Regions from separate parts of the Homo sapiens genome. Here all the other regions are linked to region 1. The links are contacts of gene promoters, found by promoter capture Hi-C in blood cells and fetal thymus (Javierre and others, 2016). All regions are on one chromosome and are shown on one strand. The core of a region is centred on a gene start or on the middle of the fragment in contact, and the rest is flanking DNA. Distances in the headings are between cores, read along the strand shown. Region 1 holds the start of KPNA5 (karyopherin subunit alpha 5). Region 2 overlaps MCM9 (minichromosome maintenance 9 homologous recombination repair factor). Region 3 overlaps MCM9 (minichromosome maintenance 9 homologous recombination repair factor).

What was found. The method cuts DNA at HindIII sites, captures the fragments that hold promoters and counts their contacts. A CHiCAGO score of 5 or more calls a contact.
Region 2: a fragment that was not itself captured here is called in contact with the fragment with the promoter of KPNA5 in region 1 in 3 of 17 cell types (M1 macrophages, M2 macrophages and total CD4 T cells); the score reaches 9.0 in M1 macrophages.
Region 3: a contact is called between a fragment that was not itself captured here and the fragment with the promoter of KPNA5 in region 1, in 3 of 17 cell types (naive B cells, non-activated CD4 T cells and total CD4 T cells). The highest score is 5.7, in naive B cells.

Annotation. Positions count from the first base shown.
Region 1 is chr6:116,679,502-116,682,918 of GRCh38, reverse strand. It overlaps KPNA5 (karyopherin subunit alpha 5), which reads right to left and starts at 1,708. Exons shown (of 14, transcript NM_001366306.2): 1 at 1,581-1,708. The coding sequence starts at 1,584. RefSeq lists enhancers at 146-1,127, 1,128-2,111. The HindIII fragment of the contact is 1,991 bases long and covers 202-2,192 here.
Region 2 is chr6:118,903,553-118,906,969 of GRCh38, reverse strand. The region is part of intron 8 of MCM9 (minichromosome maintenance 9 homologous recombination repair factor); the gene reads left to right. It overlaps ASF1A (anti-silencing function 1A histone chaperone), which reads right to left. Exons shown (of 4, transcript NM_014034.3): 3 at 1,142-1,318. Among named protein-coding and RNA genes, the nearest start is that of ASF1A, 11 kb to the right of the region's middle. The HindIII fragment of the contact is 4,304 bases long and covers 1-3,417 here.
Region 3 is chr6:118,884,423-118,887,839 of GRCh38, reverse strand. All of the region lies in intron 8 of MCM9 (minichromosome maintenance 9 homologous recombination repair factor), which reads left to right. Among named protein-coding and RNA genes, the nearest start is that of ASF1A, 8.0 kb to the left of the region's middle. The HindIII fragment of the contact is 1,375 bases long and covers 1,190-2,564 here.

The DNA of each region.
Region 1 (3,417 bases), core at 459-2,958:
TGCTTTAAAGGGGACAATAAACCAAGGGAAATTATCTCTAAAGGGGCCCCATCCAATGGGATTGTTTCGTTCACTGAAAAATAAATTTAAAGGCTGCACTTCAAAGGCTGAGGTCTCATAAAAATTAAATATTTTTATTTAGAAATGTTATTCCAGCACTTTAAAGTTACAGAATAGAGGAATTTTTTTCATTCATAAGCTTTCAACGGCTCTTAGAAAAACCATGTTTAAGTTGGGCAAATAACTGGAATCTGAACTTATGATTTTCTTTAATATCAATCGACATTATTTCTTATGCCAGTAAAGCCTTCATTTCCATGGGGCTGGGCGCCTCATTAGTGAAAGTAAAAGACTGCACAAAGCGGGGGAAGTGCCAACTAGAGAGCCCTCACAACCAAACAAGCAGTACTTAGGTCGGAGGGAGAGAGTTGCTCCTGACCTACCAAGAAAACCACTTTTGTACAGAATATGAGTCATCATTATTGGGTGTTGTAATTGAGAGATAAATCATTAGTGTTTTTGTCTTTTTTAAAAAACATGTCTAAAAAGCTCAAAAGTAAATGCCAGTGTCATATTCTTTTGTTTGTTTTTTGAGACAGAGTCTCGCTCTGTCGCCCGGGCTGGAGTGCAATGGCGCTCTCGGCTCACTGCAAGCTCCGCCGCCCGGGTTCACACCGTTCTCCTGCTTCAGCCTCCCGAGTCGCTGGGACTACAGGCGCCCACCACCATGCCAGGCTAATTTTTCCTTTTTTTGTATTTTTGGTATTTTTTTTGTATTTATTATTTTGTATTTTATTTTGTATTTTTTGTATTTTTGGTAGAGACGAGGTTTCACCGTGTTAGCCAGGATGGTCTCGATCTCCTGACCTCGTGATCCGCCCGCCTCCGCCTCCCAAAGTGCTGGGATTACAGGCGTGAGCCACCGCGCCCGCCGCCAATGTCATATTCTTTAGACATATCACTGTCATTTCACAGCTTTCAAATACTTCCATCTCCTATGTATTATCGATGAAAACCTAAGTTTTCATCTTAGAACGGAGCTGCCCGACTATTAGAAGCGTGGAACCCAGGCTTGCCTTGTCGTCGGGAATGAGCACTAGAGGCACCTGCACGCAGGTGGAGGAGGGAGGCTGGCGGATGGAGAGGGCGAGGCTAGGAGGCCCTCGGGATGGAACCTGTCTCTTCTTTGGACACTGTGGAATTTCCATAAGCTGCTGGACACAGCTGATGGGTACCAGGTATGAGTGGCAACGTTTGGCAATTCCATTAACTGAAAAGAACTACCGAGAAACGGTGAGGCGGGGCGGCGAAGATGAGACCAGCTGCCCATCACTCCAGAGGACCTGCTGAAAGAATCTGAACTCACCACGCCTTCGCGTCCGCAAGGGAAAGGTCCGGCTGCCACGCCCCCGCGACCGCTGTCGCCCTGGGGAAAACACGAGAAACACCCGGCACCGCCAGGTTCCAGAGACCTTCGCAAAGTAAGGGGTAAATAAAAACCGTGGCCCCAGGAACTAGTAGTTCCCAAAGGGACCAAAACCGAGGCTCCCCCAACCTAGCCCGTGTTCACTCCAACTTACCCATTAATGTGGCACTCTCCGATGCCCTGATTTCCCAGTCCCCAGCGGCGACGTGTGTGGCGGGTAACAGAAGGGCCGCCACTCCGCCCCTGGCGTGAAGCGTAGCGACCCAGTTCGCAATCCAAGATGGCGGCCACCTGCGCCCCTTCTCCGAGACCCCGAGGCTCGGCTCCCAGAAGCCCTTGCACTCGACGCGGCGGCGGCGGCGGCGGCGGCGGCGGCGGCGGAGGAGGAGTGGTGGCCGCACATCCTAGCAGTGGGGCGTAGAGAAAGTGCGCGCCGCCGTCCCACCCACCGAAGGAGGAGCCTGTGCCTGCGACAAGCCCTGGATTTTAGTTGCGCTTGCGGTGGCCATGCTGTAGGTACTCTGCGGCCCGTAGACCTCCGTGTGTGCAAAGGGACGACCCCTCATTCATTCATTCTTCACGCGTGCGTGCATGCATACATTCTTAAGGATATAAACTGTGTCAAGTACCATTTTAGATACATTATTGGGGCTACAACAGTGCAAAAAAGTTGGTAAAAATCGCAGCCTTGTTAAGTGTACGGAGAAGCTCACGTTTTCTTCAGCTTCATTAACTTTTATATGCTCTGCTCGTTTTATTTCAAGCTTTTTGTCATTTATAATTTTATATTCTATAACATCTGCGGTTTTTTGTTTTTGTTTTTCTGTTTTTGGGGGGTTTTTTTTGAGACGGAGTCTGGCGCTGTCACCAGGCTGGAGTGCAGTGATGCGATCTCGGCTCACTGCAACCTCCGCCTCCCAGGTTCAAGCGATTCTCCTGCCTCAGCCTCCCAAGTAGCTGGGACTACAGGCATGCGCCACCACGCCCAGCTAATTTTTGTATTTTTAGTAGAGACCAGGTTTCACCGTGTTGGCCAGGATGGTCTTGATCTCTTGACCTCCTGATCCGCCCGCCTCAGCCTCCCAAAGTGTTGGGATTACAGGCATGAGCCACCACACCCAGCCACATGAGTGTATTTTTGACAGCAATGTAGTCACCAATAAACGAGTAACTTCAGTTAAAGTACTGTAGATTATAATACACAGCCCTGTAATCTACCCTGGAGTTCAACAAACGGTATTGAAAACAGACTGTGTTCCAGATGCAATAGGAAGAGAATAAATAAGATAAACAATACATAAATCCTGCCCAGAAGACGTTTGCAATTTTTTAAGAGGAAAAACATGAAGACAAATTGTTTTAAGATGTTTGCTATTTTCAATAGTTGAAAAATAAACAGGAGAGAAGGGATTATTTAACTGTGGGTATGTAGGGCTGAGAAAGGCACGCTTGACAAAGGAAACCTGGGCAGTGTTACCAGAAAGCGTTGCCAATCATGAGTCCATATAGTGAAGTGAAAGCAAGTTTATTAAAGAAGTAAAGAAACAAAAGAATGGCTACTCCATAGGCAGAGCAGTGGCTTGGGCTGCTGGACTGAGTATATAGTTTTTTTGTGTGTTGTTTGTTTGTTTTGACACGGAGTCTTGCTCTGTCGCCCAGGCTGGAGTGCAGTGGCGCCATCTCGGCTCACTGCAAGCTCCGCCTCCCGGGTTCACGCCATTCTCCTGCCTCAGCCTCCCGAGTAGCTGGAAATTTATTGTATTTTTAGTAGAGACAGGGTTTCACCGTGTTAGCCAGGATGGTCTCAATCTACTGACCTGGTGATCCTCCTGGCTCGGCCTCCCAAAGTGCTGGGATTACAGGCGTGAGCCACCGCGCCCAGCCAGTTATTTCTTAATTATATGTTAAACAAGGGGTGGATTATTCATGAGTTTTCAAGGAAGGGGGCAGGCAATTTTTGGAACTTAGGGTTCTACCCTCTTTTAGACTGT
Region 2 (3,417 bases), core at 541-3,040, 2.2 Mb before region 1:
ATGGCTCATTCTTAGAAACAGTCCTGTTTCTTTTGTGCTATATAAGGTGCTTCAGGGATAACAAATTGGATCAATGGAAGGTACAACAAGGGTGAAAAATAGTCCGGCCTTATTATCAGAAAGAACATGAGAACATTCTATTCTATTGTCATGTAATTTTTCTTGCATGGTTCAACTTCATTTACTCTGCACTCTCACAAAATCACCAGTTACCAAACTGTTATAGTTCCCAGTGAAAAATCAGAAAATACTAAGTATCTTTAAGAATGCTGAATCCTAGATTTCAGCTTCTCACTCAGAATTTAAGCTGTTTTCAGTACCAGAAATATTTAAGACTGTTAGTTTAACTTCTAAGAATAGCAGATAAAGCGTATAGGTGTTTTGAGATAACCGTATTCATAGGAAAAACAAACATAAAACTTTCATAATTTTGGGAAGAGTTACACACAAAAATATCATCATTGAATAATTAGTACAACAAAAATGCATTTGTTTGTCCTAAAGGTTGAAATGAACAGAATCATGATGGGAATAATCAATATGGGAAATGCTATAAAGAAAGCCATAAACAAAGGCCTGTCTTACAAGAAGTACTTTCTCTGGGCGTGGTGGCTCACACCTGTAATCCCAGCACTTTGGGAGGTCAAGGTAGGCAGATCACTTGAGGTCAGGAGTTGGAGACTACCCTGGCCAACATGGTGAAACTCCACCTCTACTAAAAATACAAAAATTATCTGGGCGTGTTGGTATACACCTGTAGTCCCAGCTACTTGGGAGGCTGAGACAGGAGAATCGCTTGAACCTAGGAGGCAGAGGTTGCAGTGAGCCGAGATCATGCCACTGCGCTCCAGCCTGAGCAACAGAGCAGGAAACCATCTCAGAAAAAAAAGAGGTACTTTCATTTTTCTAAACCAGAAATGCTCAAGGTGTCTGCCTACATTAATTACTAATGACTCATCTGAAGGTAGGGTTTGAAGTCATCCATGGTAATGGAACAATAATTAGTTTGCCCAGTTGGCATAAGGACCTCATATTTATTTTATCTCAAAGCCATTTTAATAGTATACTATGAAATTGCAATAGCAACTGCTTTAAAAATTGCATAGTAAAAGTAGTTAAAAAGGAATAGTAAGAACATTACCTTAGAAAAGTCTGGTTTTACTGGTGGATTTTCCCTTAATTCTGTCTCAGTATATTCATTATTTACATAATAGCCAACTCTAATAAATTCTTGTCCTCGATAGGTACAAGTAATTAGCACAACAGTTACGCCTACTGCATCTGCATCTGGAATGAGTCCTGGATTAGGTGCATCAGCCTAGAATAAATTAAAAAGAAAAGAAACACACACACACAAAAGGCTGTTAGTGGCAGGCAAGACTGGAGTTTCAGTTACCTAGAACCATCAGTTGAGGATGCAACAAGAAAAACTTGGAAATCATACTGGGAAGGAAAATGCTCATTTCTGACTGACTTATAATAAGCTGGAAAAGACAGTTCATGTTTTGCCACAATATATGTAAGGACCCTTGATACTTGAAAGCATGACTACACTTGTAAAAGGAAGAAATTCTGGCTACACTGCATGGTGGTTCATGAAAGGATTATACACTATTCATTATAAAACCTTTATAGTCAGCAATTGATTTTAACCTTTTCAGTCATAATTTTCAGACCTAAATTAGTAAGTATTAAATGATCTCCTCATAGACTGTTGGCCACAAATGTTTATTATACCAGTTTCCCTCTTCAACCCAGGATACTTATATTCTCATACCCACTCAACCACCCCCACAGGTATTCTAATAGTAAATTAGTATAAAACTGAAAATGAGGTTGGGTGTGGTTGCTTACACTTGTAATCCCAGCACTTTGGGAGGCCAAGGTGGGTGGATCATGAGGTCAAGAGATTGAGACCATCCTGGCCAACATGATGAAACCCCATCTCTATTAAAAACACAAAAATTAGCTGGGCATGGTGGCGGGTGCCTGTAGTCCCAGCTACTTGGGAGGCTGAGGCAGGAGAATCACTTGAACCGAGGAGGTGGAAGTTGCAGTGAGCTGAGATCGCACTACTGCACTCCAGCCTGGCGACAGAGTGAGACTCCGTCTCAAACAAAACAAAACAAAACTGAAAATGAGATGGAAATAGCTACATAGCAGATTTTCAAAAAATATTAATAATCCTCTATTATGAATAGTTACTTTGCTAGACTCTACAATATAGTATGCTCTTTAAACCACACATAATGTGGAAACCAGTGAAGGTAAGGATTGCTTTAGGCAGATGTCAAAGACCTTGTTTTAAATCAAGCTATTGTAAGGTGAACCTTGAGGAATGCAGAAAGTAAACTGAGTTAGACTAGACTAAGAGCATGAGCGAAGGGCAGGGCCCCATCCGTGGTAGGGTGCAGGTAGTAATGAGACGACCGGATGGAAGGAGCCAGACTGGGGAACACAGGCAGTGATGGCTGAGGCATCTGAGGCAGCCATTCTGGGTGGTAAATGGATCAAGTCCCAGCAAATTAGCTTACCTGTTGCCAGGGCACCAAGGAATATTCCTGGGCCTAGATGAGCACTTTAGCCAATGCCTTAGCTTGTGAAAATTGAAGACTGTTGTTTACTGTATGCCTAACACAGGTAGATGATACAAAAAGGCATAAAATCGCTACCTAGTGTCCTAGGCTAAAAACCTCAGTCAGCTTCACTCCCTTATCTCCTACATCTAGTCAGTCTCAACATTTTTTTCATTTCTGGAGGCTGAATTCATGTCATCTCCTATCTGGAATATTGCTTAGAATTTTCTAACTGATCTCCCCAGCTCTAGCCTATCATTTGCACTGCTACCAGCATTAACACAGATATGTTCTTTCTCTTTGGTTTTAAAACCTCAGATTATTAAAACCCTCAGAAGAGTATTCCCTTTTCTAAGGGATAAAATCTCAGTTCTTTAACTTCATTGACAAGGCCCTTCTCAGTTTGTCTCCAGCCAATATCTCCATTCATACCTCCTTTAACTCCACCATTGTTCTAGAGATATGAATCACACAGGTTCTTTAAAACGTGGTGATAATCTTTTCACGCTCTGAGCACGGTGGCTCACGCCTGTAATCCTAGCACTTTGGGAGGCTAAGGTGGGTGGATCACTTGAGCCCAGGAATTTGAGATTATCCTGGGCCACATGGCGAAACCCCATCTCTACAAAAACAAATTTAAAAAAGAAATACTTCACCCCCTGTGCTTCTAACATACTGTTCCCTTGGCCTGAAAGGTCCTTCGCTCACATCCTGAAAAATTCATCTTTTAATCTTTTTTGGAGCTTACATCGAGTGTATTCTCAGTGACGCCCTTTCTAACTCAGAAGGTAGAATCAATAGATTCCTTTTTTATGTGCTGATATTTCTTGTCACAAATTAT
Region 3 (3,417 bases), core at 628-3,127, 2.2 Mb before region 1:
GGAGCATGCCACCATGCCAGCTCTTTGCCTATTTTGAAAATTGGGTCATCTGTCTTTTTATCATTGAGTTGTAAGAGTTCCTTATGTGTTCTACATACAGGTCTTTTGTCAAACACATGATTTGCAAGAAGTTTCTCTAGTTGTTTGGATTATCTTTTAATTTTCTTGGTGGTGTCCTTTGCAGTGTAAAAGCTTTTAATTTTGATGATGCCCATTTAATCTATTTTCGTTATGTTGGATTGTGCTTTTGATGTCATTTCTCAAAAACCATTGCCTAATCCAGCGTCATGAGGATTTACACCTGAGTTTTCTTCTAAGAGTTTTATTCTTTTAGCACCTTACATTTGGGTCTTTGATCAAGTTTGAATTAATTTTTGTATATGGTGTGAAGGGGTCCAAATTCATACTTTTGCATGTGCTTGTCCAGTTTCCCAGCAGCATCTGTTGAAAAGACTATTTTCCTAATGAATTGGCTTGGAACCTTTCTCAGAATGAATTGACCTTAAATGTATGGGTCTATTTCTGGACAATCAATTCTGTTCTGTTGATCTGTGTCCTTATACTACTGCTACATTGTCTTGATGACCTTAGGTTTGTGTAGTATGTTTTGAAAGCAGGAAGTGTGAGTCCTCCAACCTTGTTCTTTTTTTTCAATATTGGCTATTTTGCATCCCTTGAATTTTCATATGAATTTTAGGATCACTCTATCAATTCTGCAAAGAAGCCACCTGGGATTGTGATAGGGATTGCATTGAATCTATACATCCCTTTGGGGAGTACTGCCATCTTCATGATGCTGCCTTCCAATCAGTAAACATGAGTTCGCCTTTAATTTCTTTGAGTAATGTTTTGTAGTTTTCCTTCTTTCTTTTTTTGAGATAGGATCTTGCTCTGTTTTTTAGGCTGGAGCACAGTGGCACAATGATAGCTCACTGCAGCCTTGAACTTCTGGGCTCAGGCGATCCCCCAACGTCAGCCTCCAGAGTAGCTAGGACTACAGGTGTGTGTGTGTGTGCCACCACATCCGGCTAATTTTTTGAAATTTTTCATAGAGACTAGGGTCTCACTGTGTCGCCCAAGCTGGTCTCAAACTCCTGGCCTCAAGCCACCCTCCCACTTCAGCCTCTTGAAGTGCTGAGATTACAGCGTGAGCCACTACACCTGGCCTGTTGTTTTCATAGTATAAGCTTTGTACATTCTTGATTAAATTTATTCCTACATATTTTATTCTTTTTGATGCTATTGTAATGGAAATATTTTTCTAAATTCAGATTCTTCTTTGCCAAGTGTGTAGACATAGAATTGATTTTTTTTTTTGGTATCTGTCAGTCTAGCTGAGGTCATTTATTAGTTCCAATAAATTTCTAGTGGATTTCTTAGGATTTTGTGTATACAAGATCATGTCATCTGTAAATAGAGATAGTTTTATTTCTCCCTTTTCCTTCTGGATGCCTATTGTTTCTTTTTCTTTCTCTCTCTCTCTCTCTTTTTTCTTTTTGGCCCAATTTCTCTGTCTATAACCTGCAGTACAATGTTGAATAGATATAGTGACAGCAAACATCTCTGTCTTGTTCCTGATCTTAATGGGAAAATTTTCAGTCCTTTATCACTAAAAATGATACTAGCTGTGAGGTTTTTTTAGATGCTTCTTGTCAGGTTGAGGAAATTCCTTTTTGTTCTTAGTTTGTTGAATGTTTTTATCATGAAAGGGTATTGAATTTTGTCAAATGCTTTTCCTGCTTCTATTGAGATGATCATGTTTTTGTTTTTTGTTTTTTTTTTTTGGTCCCTTATTCTACTAACGAGAATACCATATTGATTGATTTTTCAGGTGTTAAATGAACCTTGCATTCCTGGAGTGAATTCCACTTGGTCATGGTGTATAATCCTTTCTACATAATGCTAGATTTAGTTTGCTAGTATTTTGTTGAGGATTTTTGCATCTGTATTCGTAAGTGATATTGATCTTTAGTATTCTGGTGATGTCTGTGTCTGATTTTTGGTCTGTGGGCAATACTGCCTATAGAATGAATTAGGAAGTGCTTCTCCCTCTTTTCTCTCTATAGAAGAGTTTGTGAAAATTTGGTGTTTGATTCTTTAAATTTTCGGTGGAATTCACTAATGAAGTTATCTGTGTTGTTTTTCTTTATGGGTGGTTTTAAAAACTATTATTACTAATATTGCCTCTGTGTTTATAGTCTATTCAGGTTGTTTTTTCTCCTTGAGTTAGTTTCAGTAGTTGGTATCATTCTAGGGATTTGTCAGTTTCATCTAAGTTACTTAATTGGTTGATGTAAAATTGTTTACACTGTTCCCTTACAATCCTTTTGACTTCTGTAAAGTCAATAATAATGCCCATCTTTGATTCCTGACTTTACTAATTTGATTCTTTCTTTTTTGTTTGGTCACCCTAACTAAAGGATTGTCAACTTTTAGTTTCATTAATTTTCTCTATTTTTATTCTCTATTCCAGTAATTTCTGCTTTAATATTTATTATTTCCTTCCTGTGCTTGCCAATAGTTTAGTTTACTCTTCTTTTTTCCAGTGTCTTAACGTAGAAGCTTAGATTACTGATTTGAGATCTTCTTTTTTATTTTATTTTTATTTATTTATTCATTTTTGAGATGGAGTCTCACTCTGTCTCCCAGGCTGGAGTGCTCTGTCTCCCATGCTGGAGTGCAGCGGCGCAATCTCAGCTCACTGTAAGCTCCGCCTCCCGGGTTCACCCCGTTCTCCTGCCTCAGCCTCCTGAGTAGCTGGGACTACAGGCGCCCACCACCACGCCTGGCTAATTTTTTGTATTTTTAGTAGAGATGGGGTTTCACCATGTTAGCCAGGATGGTCTCGATCTCCTGACCTTGTAATCCACCCACCTCGACCTCCTAAAGTGCTGGGATTACAGGTGTGAGCCACTGCGCCCAGCTGGCTATTGTTTTAATCTTAGGGTTCTTTGTTGATCTGCCTAGTTTTATTATCCTTATGAGTTGATGATTTTATCCTTTTAAAATGCCCATTTTAATTGCTAATAATTTTTTAAATTTAAAAATCTTTTGTCTGGTATTAGTATAAATACTCCGGCTTTCTCATTGATATTTACATACGTATGTTTTTCCATCCTTTTACTTTCAACCCATTTCTTTCTTTGAATCTAAAATACCTCTTGTAGATAGCATATAGTTGGTTTTTCTTTTTTGTATCCATGCTGTCAATATATGCCTTTTGATTGGATTATTCAGTCCATTCACATTTAATGTTACTGATACGGTTGCATTCCTATCTGCCATTTTATATTTTGTCTTCTATATGTCTCAAGTTGTTTTGTTTTTTTTTAAATTCCTTTTTTACTGCTTTCCTTTGTATCAAATGAATATTTTCTAGTATAGCATTTTTTATTTCTTTAATGATTTTTCTCTATT